Regions from separate parts of the Homo sapiens genome. Here all the other regions are linked to region 1. The links are contacts of gene promoters, found by promoter capture Hi-C in blood cells and fetal thymus (Javierre and others, 2016). All regions are on one chromosome and are shown on one strand. The core of a region is centred on a gene start or on the middle of the fragment in contact, and the rest is flanking DNA. Distances in the headings are between cores, read along the strand shown. Region 1 holds the start of SETD7 (SET domain containing 7, histone lysine methyltransferase). Region 2 overlaps ELF2 (E74 like ETS transcription factor 2). Region 3 overlaps ELF2 (E74 like ETS transcription factor 2). Region 4 overlaps NOCT (nocturnin).

The links. Contacts are between HindIII fragments. The CHiCAGO score rates a contact against its expected background, and 5 or more counts as called.
Region 2: a fragment that was not itself captured here is called in contact with the fragment with the promoter of SETD7 in region 1 in 1 of 17 cell types (total CD4 T cells); the score reaches 5.2 in total CD4 T cells.
Region 3: a contact is called between a fragment that was not itself captured here and the fragment with the promoter of SETD7 in region 1, in 2 of 17 cell types (fetal thymus and naive B cells). The highest score is 6.8, in fetal thymus.
Region 4: a contact is called between a fragment that was not itself captured here and the fragment with the promoter of SETD7 in region 1, in 1 of 17 cell types (total CD4 T cells). The highest score is 5.5, in total CD4 T cells.

Annotation. Positions count from the first base shown.
Region 1 is chr4:139,554,811-139,558,334 of GRCh38, reverse strand. SETD7 (SET domain containing 7, histone lysine methyltransferase) reads left to right here and starts at 2,116. Exons shown (of 8, transcript NM_030648.4): 1 at 2,116-2,237. The coding sequence starts at 2,198. RefSeq lists an enhancer at 959-1,128 and silencers at 1,869-1,978, 2,199-2,258, 2,319-2,488, 2,619-2,808. The HindIII fragment of the contact is 7,816 bases long and covers 1-3,524 here.
Region 2 is chr4:139,063,542-139,066,894 of GRCh38, reverse strand. The region is part of intron 7 of ELF2 (E74 like ETS transcription factor 2); the gene reads left to right. Among named protein-coding and RNA genes, the nearest start is that of NOCT, 49 kb to the right of the region's middle. The HindIII fragment of the contact is 1,108 bases long and covers 1,357-2,464 here.
Region 3 is chr4:139,100,406-139,104,046 of GRCh38, reverse strand. The region is part of intron 4 of ELF2 (E74 like ETS transcription factor 2); the gene reads left to right. It also overlaps the pseudogene RN7SL382P. Among named protein-coding and RNA genes, the nearest start is that of ELF2, 75 kb to the left of the region's middle. The HindIII fragment of the contact is 1,553 bases long and covers 569-2,121 here.
Region 4 is chr4:139,044,914-139,048,363 of GRCh38, reverse strand. NOCT (nocturnin) reads right to left here. Exons shown (of 3, transcript NM_012118.4): 3 at 2,425-3,450. The coding sequence ends at 2,890. Among named protein-coding and RNA genes, the nearest start is that of NOCT, 31 kb to the right of the region's middle. The HindIII fragment of the contact is 252 bases long and covers 1,944-2,195 here.

The DNA of each region.
Region 1 (3,524 bases), core at 867-3,366:
TCTTTTTGCTGCTTCCTTCAGCTTTCAGCATTGTTTTTCACCCTGAAAATCAACTGGAAACTGGGGAAGACGAGTATCTGGTATGTTTTAGTGCACCAGTATAATATGCAAGGGAGGGGGTGATATGTAAAAAGGTTAAATGAGAAAAAATATCATATAATTCAAAACCAGTGAGTGACCGAGCTCAGTAAATGATGGCTTTTTAAAAATCAGATATAAAATCCTGTTTCTGTGGTTCATGTTTGAAAATGATGTAACCTAAAGTGGCTCTTTCATCTTCCACTGCACGTACACCTTCTCTGTTTAGCCTTGGACTCCCAGTATCTGCACTGGAGGACTTTAAGGAGGTCAAACCTAAGCCAAGAGACTTCAGAGAGGTATAGACTAAGCTAGAGGGTGTCTTGCTTGAGCCAAAGAACCTCAGAGTGCTCTAGCCTAAGCCCCAAGGACCTTATGTCAATGTAGACTAAGCCTCTAATCTGGAGGAATTCAGGCTGGCTGGCTGGGCTCCCAAGACACCTCTGCAGGTGAGCAGCACCAGGACTCAAGTCTCCTAACTTCTGGTCCAGGACCCTCCCCTTTCTAAAACAGTCAAAGGGGCTGAAATTCCTGGAAGTGTGTGGGGCTAATGTCCCTAGCATTGTTCTCTTTTTCATAGAGGAAAAGCTGACTTTAAGAAACAAGCCGGCAATACTTGACAAAAATATCTACCATTTAAGCACAGAGCCAAAAGCAAGGAGTAGTCTCCTGGGCGCTGGAAGTATTTTGAAATCCCCAAAGTCTCATTCATTGATCAGAAAACAAAATGGAATTACTTTTTTTTTGCTCCCTCCTCCCCTCCATGCAGTAGCTGTTCTTGGCGGGTGCCCAGAGCGGCACCCGGTAATTCCACGGTACATTGTGTACATTTACATCTGTTTAATCGGCTATTTACAGTCGCCCTTTACCGCCACCTGTAAGAGGCAGCGCCATAACGACACTAAGTGGCCGGGCCGGAAGCCGGGTGCCCAATGGTTTTCTCCACTTGAGGACGCCTGAATCTGTGAAGTGGTTGGCACTTGGAGAAACAGAGAGACAGCTGGGGACATCACACGTACAGGGCGGGAGGCGCGGGAAAGAGGCGCGCCAGACGGAGGGTCCTTCCTTCCTCGTTAGCTCCACTCGGCGGCTCCTTTTCCATTACCACAGCAGCAAGGAGGAACCTGCCGAGCCTTCGGTGCGGCTTGTTTCCTGCCTGACAGAGAGCCCGCTGCCATTTGGATTTGATGAATTTCTGAATCACCCGAGGGCCTGGCGACCCGAAGGAGGGCGGGGAGTGGGGGCGCTGGGGTGGACCCGCCATCCTGCGGAATCCGGGCCAGATAACAGCCCCCGAGCTGGGGAAATCGGCTTGCGGATGTGATGCGGGACCGCGAGGACACCTGCGCTCCCTTGCGTGTCGCACTCGTGCAGCTCCCGGTGGCGACGGGGTGATGTGGGGGCGAGGGTGAGAGGAAGTCCAGGCGCCAGAGCGTCAGAAACGCTTCCTTAGCTTCCCTGGCACTTTGGAGGTTGTCTCGAGGGAACACGGACAGTGCACGACGGACTTTCAAGTTGCTCCCGGCACAACGGGAGGTCGGGAGCTCGGAGCCCCTACGGGCGGTCCAAGTGTCCGCGAGAAGCCCGCAGCGCCCAGGACCGCGTTGAGCGCTCGGGGCGCGCCAAGCCGCACCTAAGCAAAAGAGAAACGCTGACGGGCCGGAGGCGGGTTGGCTGGGACGCGGAATACGCGCGGCCCCGGAGCGCCTTTCGTTTTAAGGAGCCTTACTTCTGGAAAGGGACAGGGAACTGTCAATCAGCGAGGGAGGGAGCGCACCGGCGCTGGGTGATGTCAGCGGATCAGCTGCTCGATAACAAAGAGAGGGTATTACAGGAGAAAGTTGCAGCAGCGGCAGCGGCCAAGGCGGCACACCGGAGCCTCCGAGGCGAGGGGCAAGTGGGCGAAGGGAGGGGGGACGACGGCTGCTGCCGCAGCAGCTGAAGGCCAAGGAATTGAAAGGGCTGTAGGGGGAGGCAGTGCGAGCCAGCCCCGACTGCTCCTCCTCTTCCTCCTCCTCCTCCAAACTCGCGAGCCCCAGAGCTCGCTCAGCCGCCGGGAGCACCCAGAGGGACGGGAGGCAGCCGCGCAGCCCCGAGCTGGGCAGTGTCCCCAGCCGCCATGGATAGCGACGACGAGATGGTGGAGGAGGCGGTGGAAGGTACAAGCATTTCTCCGGGGCCGGGGGAGGAGGCGCAGAGGGCCTGGAGCGCGGAAGGAGTGGCGGGCTGCGAACAGCGCGGCGCCGGGCCCCGCGGCCGCCACTGTCCCCTACACGGGTGGCCGGTTGCCCGGCTCGGGCGGGGGCCCGACAGCCACGGTCACGCCGCCGGGAGCGCGCACTGCGCGGCGGGGCGCAGGCCGAGAATGGGGCTCCGCCAGGCCGGGGGCGCTGGAAACGCACGGCCGCTCCATCCCGCCCGGCCACAGCCTGCATCCACCCTCGGAGTTGCGAAACCTGCCCCGCGCTCTGGCCTTTCCGCCTTTGGGCGCGGAGGGTGGGTGCACTCCGCAGGGCAGCCCCTTGAGGCCGGCGGACTCCGCGGAGCAATCCCCTAGCCCAGTTTTGGCCACCCCGATCCCCTCCCGGCCGCCAGCCCTTCCCTTCTGCTGCCTCTGCGCCCCGCGGCGGCCGCGGCCCCGTCCGGGTAGGTCCCCCGGCGCAGCGCACGGGGCCAGACCAGGCACGTGGCAGCCGCGGCCCAGGCGGCAGCTCTTCCGAAAAGATGAAATCATTGTCGGGCGACGGACAAGTCTCCCGACCCGGGACTCGAACGTGCGCCGTCCGGGAGGCGGGCAGCCCTCCCCTCAGCTGCCCCCGAGCGAACTCAGTCAGGCCTCCCCCTCCCCCTTCCTGCTTGGCTGGGATGCAGCCGCCACGCTGTGCAGGCGCGCCGCGAGTCCGCACCGAGATTGCTGGGTGACACTTAACTTTCTGAATTCCATGCCGTTGGCTGTGGGTGATATCACCGCCTCAGTGTCGTGTTTCTCCGCCCCTTCTCTTCTACCGCCCCTCCCCCGACTTTTCTCGCCACTTTGTTTTGCTGAGTTTCTCCACCTTTTTTTTTTTTTTTTTGTTAGTTCTGAAAAAACGATGTGGGGACGTTATACAATCTCGTTGTTTGTATCATAGGATGTTATGATTTTGTAACAGCGAATACTGGAAAATACTCTTTAGCGTATTTATTTGGTTCCACTCCATACAGTACGTCGTGATGTTTTTCAGTGTGGTGTGGTATGATACCAGAATGTTTTAAACTAAGCATGTGAGTAAATAATTTTTAGCTGTTGGTTGAATCTGGTTTCTGTCTGATTTGTATAAACACAAGTTCTGACGAAGGATAAAGAAAAAAAGTGGCGACACTACAAATGCATAAGGATACATGGTTATTGTTACACTAGGGAAAAATCAGTTTTAATGTTTTCATAAACATAACTCCCTTTGCAG
Region 2 (3,353 bases), core at 661-3,160, 490 kb after region 1:
AAAACCATGTTTTTGCTTATTTATTGACTTATTTTTACAGACAGGGCTAGAATGCAGTGGCATGACCATACCTCACTGCAGCCTTGCGCTACTGTGCTTGTAGCCTCCCAAGTAGCTGGGACTACACGCACACACCACCGCACCCAGCTAATTTGTTTTTTTTTTTTTTAAGAGATGGGGGTCTTGTGCTTTGTTGCCCAGGCGGATCTCGAATTCCTAGCTTCAAGAGATCCTCCGGCCTCACACTCCCAGAGTGCTGAGATTATAAGCGTGAGCCACTGCCCCTTGCCTATTTTTGCTTTAGAATTTGTGTATCCTGATTAAAAATGAAAACAGCACCAAACCTCCCCCATTCTGTGCTTTCCTAATTTGTGGAGTAAGATGATTTCAAGTAACATTTCTTTTTAAAATTATTTTTATTATCTTTTTTTTTTAATTTTAAAATCTTTTGTAGAAACAGAGTGCCCCTGTTTTGCCCAGGCTTGTCCCAAACCCCTCGCCTCAAGCGATCCTCCCATCTTGGCCTCCCAAAGTGTTGGGATTATAGACATGAGCCACCGTACCTGGCCTTTAATTTTCTTGTCACTCAGATTCTGACAGATAAAGTATCATTTCAGTAGTGGTTTTAGATGTGTTCTGTCTGCCCATCTGATAACCGAAAATTTATCACTTTCATGAATAAGTGTTTTCAGACCAATATTCAATAGTTGGATAAATTTTACATTAATATATTTAAATTTATTCTGTCCTTATCAGGTGGTTTGATTTAATAATTTTAAATAATTAAAACAGAAATTAAGTCTAGTTTAAAAAAAATTGTCTCCAGTAAGCCTACCAAGAAATTTGGTATTTCATTAGGTCAAAAAAAAAAAAAAAAAAAAAAAAGGTGACATTGAACACATTCAGGAACTGGTGACCCAATTTGGGAGAGGCTTAGGATACTTTTCTTATTTCCTTGTTTGTCTTTGGTTGTTGTACACTTCTAACATCTTAGGTTTCTTCTTTTAGTTTATATTGAAAACTTTAAAAGTTAACATAGTATGTATTAGAAAATTAAACTGTAAATATACAGTTATTACTGTTGTCTTTTTAAATAATTCTTATCCTCAGTGGTATCACTTATACTTGAATATCTTTTGCTTAACGCTGGAGAAAAACTGTGACCAGTTTTTACCAATTAAAATCACATCTCATTACAATTTCAGTCTTGTATTAAATTTGAGGCAGTGTGTTATAATGTAATTAATTGAAGCTGTTACAGTCAAACCTGTATTCAAAGTCCAGCCAGTGTTTTTTCTTCTGTAAAATTGTGATAATAGTCATAGGCAAATTCCTTATTACCTGGTAAAGAAAGCTTCTCTTTCTGAATCCTGTTTTCCCTAAAACCAGAAATATAATTTTTAATAATTTTTTTCTATAGAGACAGGGTCTCACTCTGTCACCTAGGCTGGAATACAGTGACAGGATCATAACTCATTGCAGCCTCAGCCTCCCAGGCTAAAGTATTCTTCTGCCTCAGCCTCCCAAGTAGCTGGGACCACAGGCACATACCACCGTGTCTGGCTAATTTTAAAATTTTTTGTAGAGACGGGTCCCCCTATGTTGCCTAGGCTATTCTCATACTCCTAGGCTCAAGTGATCCTTCAGCCTTGGCCTCCTTAGAATTGTTCATTTTAACTTGGGGATGGCAACATGGGTGCAGTGAGTGTTTAAAGATAATATGAGGGATTTTGATGAGTTTAATTCAAAACATGGAAACATTCAGATATCTTATGTACAGGGCATTGTCTATGTTATACAAACATTTCTTCCAGAGTAAAATCTTTGCTCACATTTACTACTATGTGAACAAAATAAAAATGCAAAAAAAAGAAAATAACTGAAGATTATACATGGTTTGTTTTAATAGTTTTTAGGTAGTGATGCTGGTGTAATAGGGTCCTAGAGATACAAATGTAACTTTGTAAAGTTAAAAGTCATTTTTTTTGTTTTGTTTTGTTTTGTTTTGTTTTTTGAGGTGGAGTTTCGCTCTTGTTGCCCAGGCTGGAGTGCAATGGCATGATCTCAGTTCACTGCAACCTCTGCCTCCCGGGTTCAAGCGATTCTCCTGCCTCAGCCTCCTGAGTAGCTGGGATTACAGACATGTGGCACCACGCCCGGCTAATTTTTATATTTTTAGTAGAGATGGGGTTTCTCCATGTCGGTCAGGTTGGTCTCAAACTCCCGACCTCAGGTGATCCGCCCGCCACGGCCTCCCAAAGTGCTGGGATTACACACATGAGCCAACACGCCCGGCCGAAGGTCAGCTTTTTCAGGTCAGTAGATGCATAATGGGTTGAACTCTGTGTTATTAATGAATTTACTGGATTTTCAGAGAAAGCCACAATGAAAGTGAAATGCCAGAGACAAAACATCAGTACTTTGACTGAAGGTGTTGGGGTAGTGCTGGCTTGTTTTGGAAGCTTCCCACATAGCCTGTATCTTAGAACTGGATTTAAGGATAGTAAACGAATAGTGCATGGAATCCTACAGATGACCTATCTTTTTCGTCTCAGGACTCTTTTCTGTTCTTTTTTTCTTGAGACGGAGTCTCGTTCTGTCGCTCAGGCAGTGCGGTGCAGTGCAGTGGCGTGATCTCTGCTCACTGCAACATCCGCCTCCTGGGTTCAAGGGATTCTCCTGCCTCTGCCTTGCGAGTAGCTGGGATTACAGGCACCCGCCATCATGCCTGGCTAATTTTTGTATTTTTGTAGAGATAGGGTTTTACCATGTTGGCCAGGCTGGTCATGAACTCCTGACCTCAGGTGATCCACCCACCTTGGCCTCCCAAAATGCTGGGATTACAGGCGTGAGCCACCTCGTCCAGCCTTCTGTTCTTCTATTAATAAGAACCTTGGCACCTAGAGGTTATGAAGGGAATAAAATAAAAACAATCTGAAAAGCGTCTTCTAATGACCGCTGCCTACTACTCTCTCCTCCATAATAAGGGAGAAAAAAGTGTGATACTTTCTTCCTTTTGGGATTAAGTTTTTTTTTTTTACTTGCCCAGATTCCTTTTTGTTCTTTTATGCACATCCTAGCCATCTTCCAAGACTTCATGATGGCCTCCCAGTCCACTTTATTTTCACTCTTGGAATCCCACAGACATATTTTCTAGATTATTTGGAATATAATTAATTATGCATTGCTTTGTGATAGATCTTATATTGTTTCAAATTGTTATTTATTTCTTGCATTGTTGTTTAACTTGTCATCTACTTTCTTTCCCCTTCTCAACTAAATTATAAATTCCTTGAGGCAGGGACCAGGTTTTAAATTCATCTCCTTAAGCATGGTATGCGATGAATAAGCAT
Region 3 (3,641 bases), core at 96-2,595, 450 kb after region 1:
CTTTTCACTTTGTAAATATGCCAAAATATATACACTACTTGAAGGGAATGAGCAATTACTTTTTTTATTTAACTAAAATACTTTTCATATGTTTTATATTAAACTGGGTGGTGATAATATGCAATTATTTTTCAGGACTTAAGAATATCTTTAAACAATTATTTGTTAGTGAGTAGAAAAGCAAACTCTTTGTCTCACTATGCTCTCAACAGTTAACACAGAAGACCTCTGGGACATCTGATTACCATGAAGTGTGTGGGATTTCTCCCGACCAATAAACTAGTCAGTCAGTTCTGTAGTGGACACCAGCTGGGTGTCCTCTAATTCAATTCAGTTCTGACACTGTCTACTTGGAGATAGCATCAGATCCTCTGAGAAACACATTTACCAGTTTATCATAAAGGATATTTAAAGGATACAGATGAAGAAATGCATAGGGCGTGAAGTATTGGGGAAGGGTCATGGAGGTCCCATGCCCTTGCTGGGCATGCCACACTCCAGGAACCTCCACATGTTCAGCTATCAGGAAAGTCTCTGAACTCATTCGTTTTGGGTTTTTATGGAAGCTTGATTAAGTAGGCATGATTGATTAAGTCATTGGCTATTGGTGGTTGACTTAACCTTCAGCCCTGTTTCCCGAGGCCCAGAGGTTGGGAGTGGGGCTGAAAGTCCCAACCCTATAATCCTGCCTTGGTCTTTCTGGTGACTAGCCCCCATCCTGAAGATACCTAGGGGCTGCCAGCCATTACTCAATCTTTAGCACACAAAAGAACACTTACTACTTTGGAGATTCCAAGGATTTTAGGACTTGTATGCCAGGAAATGGGGAGCAAGACTAAATATATATATTTCACACATATTTCACAATATCACAGCTAGAACTTGGGAGATTTTCTTATCAGTAGATGAACTTGCAAAAGATCATGAGAAAGTTTTACATCAAAAAGAAAAGGTTAGCCTGGGCAATATGGCAAAACCCCATCTGTACAAAAAATACAAAAATTAGTCGGGCATAGTGGCAGGTGCCTGAAGTCCCAGCCACTTGGAGGCTGAGGTGGGCAGATTGCTTGCACTTGGTAGGTCAAGGCTGCAGTGAGCTGTGATCCTGACACTGCATTCTGACAGAGCGAGACCCTGTCTCAGGGGGGAAAAAAAAAAACATTTATGTCTCCGATCTAGTTAGCAAAAAGATACTTCTTTTTTTTGGAGATGGAGTCTTGCTCTGTCGCCCAGGCTGGAGTGCAGTGGCATGATCTCAGCTCACTGCAACCTCCGCCTCCTGGGTTCAAGCAATTCTGCTGCCTCAGCCTCCCGAGTAGCTGGGATTACAGGTGCCCGCCACCACGCCTGGCTAATTTTTTTATTTTTAGTAGAGATGGGGTTTCACCATCTCGGCCAGGCTGGTCTAAAACTCCTGACCTCAGATGATCCGCTTGCCTCAGCCTCCCAAAGTGCTGGGAATTCTGGCGTGAGCCAGCATGCCCGGCCGATACTTCCTTTTTTTTTTGAGACGGAGTCTCCCTCTGTCTCCCAGGCTGGAGTGCAGTGGTGCTATCTCCGCTCACTGCAACCTCCGCCTCCTGGGTTCAAACAATTCTCCTGCCTCAGCCTCCCGAGTAGCTGGGACTACAGGCGCCCGCCACCACCCACCACGCCCGGCTAATTTTTTGTATTTTTTTTTTTTTTTTCGTAGAGACCGGGTTTCACTGTGTTAGCCAGGATGGTCTCGATGTCTTGACCTCGTGATCCACCCACCTCGGCCTCCCAAAGTGCTGGGATGACAGGCGTGAGCCACTGCGCCCGGCCCTGATACTTCTTATATATGGTGTTTGACAAGTCTTTCAGGAAAATCTGAATTTTTTTCCCCATATGACCTTTTTTCTGATGTGTAATAGTTGGAAAATAAAGGCAGGATTTAGAATAATTACTGAGAATGAAAAACTTCTTTTGAAGAGGAAACCAAGAACTTGGTTCAAGAGGAGAAAGAAATTAAAAGGTGGTAATTTCTTTTTGAGACATTTACTTTCTTGAATAAACTTGACATCCCCCCCTTTTTTTTTTTTATCTTTTTCTTTAGGGACATTGGTCTATAGTTAGTATCTAGGTTTACAACATTAAGCTTTTTTCATTTTGTTTGGAAAAACAAGGCTGGCAGAATTACATTTGTTTTTAATTCCATTGCTAATATTACATACTTAGGAGGCTATCAGGTGCAAGTTATTTACTTGAGACAAGAAGCACTGATTATTTTGGCTAGGCTTCATCTGAAGGCCTATGTTCTGGGAAGGGAGGCCTCCATAAAAAAGGAAGAACCTTTAGTGACCTTTATCCTTGGGAATAAAAGTAAAGATCAGAAGCCAGTGCATTCAGTTTACCGTCTTACAAAAGGAGTCAAGTATTGTATAGGTCAGAGACCACTATTGTAAGATCATATAAATCCTGTGTCTAATTTTGTTATCCTCTGTTTCTCCATAATAATTAGTACCAAGCACTTTACAAAAAGAATCCCCATATATTTGTTTTTGGAGGCCACAAGAAATGGGAAGGGCTAATGAGAGACTGCAGTTAATTCTGCAGCTAGTCTTAGGGAAAACAGAACTCCAAAAAATAGAAGAGCTGAAAGGAGAAGAAAGCAGACTGAATTCTTGTGCTTATCAAAGGAAGAACAAAAGAATAAGGAGTTGTCCTGGATCTGAGACCATTAGTGGGGTTACCTGAGATGACCTGTGATGTGTGTGGCACTGTGTTTTTTTTATGTGAACTAGAGCAAGAAATTAGATATGGCCCCTCCTGTAAAGAAACTCACTCATTTGTGGGGAAAATATATAAGGAAACAACTCTTCATAACCTAAGGTTTAATAATATTAGTGTTATAATAGTGAAGGAGACAGATCTTAGCTATTCTGATGGGAAGTTTACATTTTAGTTGAGTTTGGGAGGATAAATAAAATTTCATTGGGAAGAAAAGAATTTTCTAGTTGAGAAGTCATTTATTTATACCTTTTCCTACCTTCTCCCAGTCCATTACCAAATCATGTTAATTTTGCCTCCAAAGTATATCTCGAGTCTTCCTATCTTCATTGCTACTAGGCTAGTTCACTCTGTAGTTTTTTTACATGAGCTATGTTGATGGCCTTTGGCCTTCTAATCAGCCTGTTTTCATTATTGCCTCCTCCTCCTACCCCCAGCAATCTATGCTCACCATAGTAGCCAAAGTGATTTAAAATATAAATTTGTAAGTGGAATAGTGATACTCCCTCCCTAAAATCTTTCAGTGGATTCTAATTGCACTTAAGATAAAATTCAGAGTATTTTTAAATTGTTTTCACTTAATTTTTATTTTTTTTCTGTATTTCAATGGATGCAGTTAAAAAAATGTTTTTTTTAAAGAGTTATGGTCTTGTTATGATGCCCAAGCTGGAGTACAGTGGTTATGCACAGGTGCAGTCCCACTACTCATCAGGACAGGAGTTTTGACTTGCTCTGTTTCCAGGCTGGTCTGGTTCACCTCTCCTTAGGCAACCTTGTGGTCCCTCACGTTTATGCCGAACTTAGTGCAGATACCCAATTGACTTAGTGCACTATAGCCCAGCATTTCTGGACTCAGGCGATCCTTCTGCCTCAGCCTCCCAAGTAGTTGG
Region 4 (3,450 bases), core at 820-3,319, 510 kb after region 1:
ACTTTAAAAAAATTTTCTTTTTCAGTTCCTGATAATGCATCAGTGAAGGATCCAATCTCCTGCAGTGATAACTAGAAAGGATAACTCGAGAGTTTCACTGGATTTTTTCCAGTCCCCTTAACTCATAGTAACATACCAATCATATGTTGGTGTTTCCAAAACTGATTTCGTCTGGTGGCATGCCCATGCACCCATATGCCCACCCTCAACTCATACCCTGTTAATTTTGTTGGTAGACAACACTTGAAACTCAGACATTATTTTGGCCTTCATTCTTATCCAGATTTATTTATTTAAGGCTGCCATGGTTTCTCTTCCGGTTGAAGTATTTTGGGGTAGGTAAACAATGTACCTGCAATAATGAGTATTCTAATCAGTATTGTTCTCAACAACATATGACTAGCAATTAGTCATGCTAAAATCTGAACCAATTCTACATTTGGTAGATGTTCCCGTGCTTGTCATTCTTTCCAGTAGCCCCAAAATTCTGTGCATACTATGTTACTTCTGAAAACCTCATTTGTTTTAAAAGTGGTTCTATTAAAGAATGAGTGATCCATTTCAGTGGACGTTGTTGCAGCTACAGATCTATGTACGTTCACTTTTACAGTGAAGGCTCCATGTGTGAATGGATATATGTGGGTCATTATGATAAAACAGTATTAAAGGAGAAAATCTACTCCCAGATTCTTTTTGGACTACAAAGACATTAAAAGCACTAGGTTTAAAAGACCATTTATTAATCTTATGTATTTACAACTCACAAATTAAAATATCTATTACCAATAAGTTATTTTGTTTGGAAGAGGCTTTACCTGTAATTTTTACTTTTATTTCTGATGGAAGAGAATTCCAGGTTTTTTTGAGATGGAGTTTCACTCTTGTTGCCCAGGCTAGAGCGCAATGGTGCAGTCTGGGTTCACTGCAACCTCTACCTCCCAGGTTCAAGCGATTCTCCTGTTTCAGCCTCCCAAGTAGCTGGGATTACAGACACCTGCCACCATGCCCAGCTAATTTTTGTATTTTTAGTAGAGACGAGGTTTCACCATGTTGGCCAGGCTGGTTTCGAACTCCTGACCACAGTTGATCCGCCCACCTTGGCCTCCGAAAGTGCTGGGATTACAAGCATGAGCCACCACACCCGACCCAGGTTATCTAACTTTTTACATTCTTCTTTCTAGATATTTTGAATGACAGTATCTGGCTATCTTAGGAAATTTCAATGAAAGCCCATTAACAGGCTTTCTAGAAAGTTTCCTATCTCTGAAAAGAAGGTCCTACTGACTCTCTTGGCCACTGCCACATACAGCTTCTAAATAACCTATTGTGAATAGCACATTCCAATACAAATAATGATGACATCGAGTGACTAATATCAAACGCATACCAATATTATTCCAATGGTAAAGTTTAAATATAACAGCAATAATGAAAACTAATTGGTTAAATAATTGAAAACTAATTGGAATCTCTTCAAGAAACACAATAAGGCCGGGCGCTGTGGCTCACGCCTGTAATCCCAGCACTTTGGGAGGCCAAGGCGGGCAGATCACCAGGTCAGGAGATCGAGACTGAGACCATCCTGACTAACATGGTGAAACCCCGTCTCTACTAAAAATACAAAAAATTAGCCGGGCGTGGTGGCAGGCGCCTGTAGTCCCAGCTACTTGGGAGGCTGAGGCAGGAGAATGGTGTGAACCTGGGAGGCAGAGCTTGCAGTGAGCCGAGACTACACCACTGCACTCCAGCCTGGGCAACAGAGTGAGACTCTGTCTCCAAAAAAAAAAAAAAGAAACACAATAATGGAACATAGAGGCAGGACAAGGATTATTTTTGAAGAATGTATCAAAGAAATCTGACATTTAAATAACAAAAGCCCCTCCAGGCTAAATAGTTCCTTTGTACTCATTTTGTTATAGCCCAAATGAAAATATTTTAAAGCTTTATGAAAATCACCATAAATTACTTTCTCTATAACTTCTCTTGCATGGTTCTAAAATGTTCATAATGCTATAATTTACTTAATTTTATATGAAGATATAAAAAATAAATACTGCCATGCATTTTGTTGACATTTTAAAAACCCACAAATAAATAACTTAAAATGCTGTTTAGAGAAATTGCTCCTACATACTATTATGGAAGATTCAAGCAACAAGTCTAAGTTTTTATAGCATCCTCAAATTGAAAAAGCTTCAAAATAACCGAATTTATTATTATTTTAGAAATAGAGATGGGGTCTCGTGCCATGTTGCCCAGGCTGGACTCGAACTCCTGGGTTCAAGTGATTCTCCCACCTTGGCGTCCCAATGTGTTGGTATTACAGGCATGAGCAGCCACCACACCTGACCAAAACAAGCCAATTTAATGCCCTTAAATGATCAAAATGTAATATTAAGGAAAAGAAAACAACACAAGCCAAAATTGGAGTGCAAACGCCTTTTTCACCATAGGTTTTAATTGAAAAAGGGACTAAAGGGAGTCTTTTCCAAGGGCATGCTGGAAACGCAGAAAATGAAATGATAGAAACTTCCCATGTTTCTATCCTTCCTCTGGCATTGTCTTATCCTATTTGTTTCCTGAAACATTCCCTGTTAAGACTCTTGTGATTCAAGGTCAGGAGATCGAGACCATCCTGGCTAACACGGTGAAACCCCGTCTCTACTAAAAATACAAAAAATTAGCTGGGCGTGGTGACGGGCGCCTGTTGTCCCAGTTGCTCTGGAGGCTGAGGCAGGAGAATGCCATGAACCCGGGAGGCGGATCTTGCAGTGAGCCGAGATCAGGCCACTGTACTCCAGCCTAGGCAACAGAGCGAGACTCTGTCTCAAAAAAAAAAAAAAAAAAAAAAAAATAGACTCCTGTGATTAAAAAGACAAAAGCAAGTATTTATGAAAGTCCATCAGATTCCTCAGTAAAGCTGAAGTCACACACTAGAGACAGGTGGTCTGAAGGATAATTGAAGGAAGGTAACCTGTTGGGTCCAATCTGTTCTTCAGTGAGCAGATCGAGAGCTGACCTTACATTTAGAGCATGTTTAGAATACCAGATGTAATCCAGGGTGTGCCTGCACTCCCCTGAGGTCCGGATCTTCCAGGTAGTGTATGGGGGTTCTGACTGCCCATCAGCACTCAGCAGCTTGTAGGCGCTGTTCAGGTTGAGGCTGGAGGAAGCAAAGTGTTTGTAGACCTCTTCTGTTGGCTCTGCATTGAAGTCCCCACACACAATAAGGGGAATCTTGGCTCCTTGGGTGATGTTTTGCAGGTTCTGAAGGAGGTCACAGCCTTGAGCTGATCGAAACCGCTCCCAGCCAGTGCGTGCTTTTAGATGGGTAACAGCGATGCAGAACTGTCGGCCTGACTCCTTGCACTCCAGGGTCTGTGCAATGGCCACCTGGTTGGTTTTCAATGTCATGGCTGTCAGCCTAATATTGGCACTGTTGACTAGCTT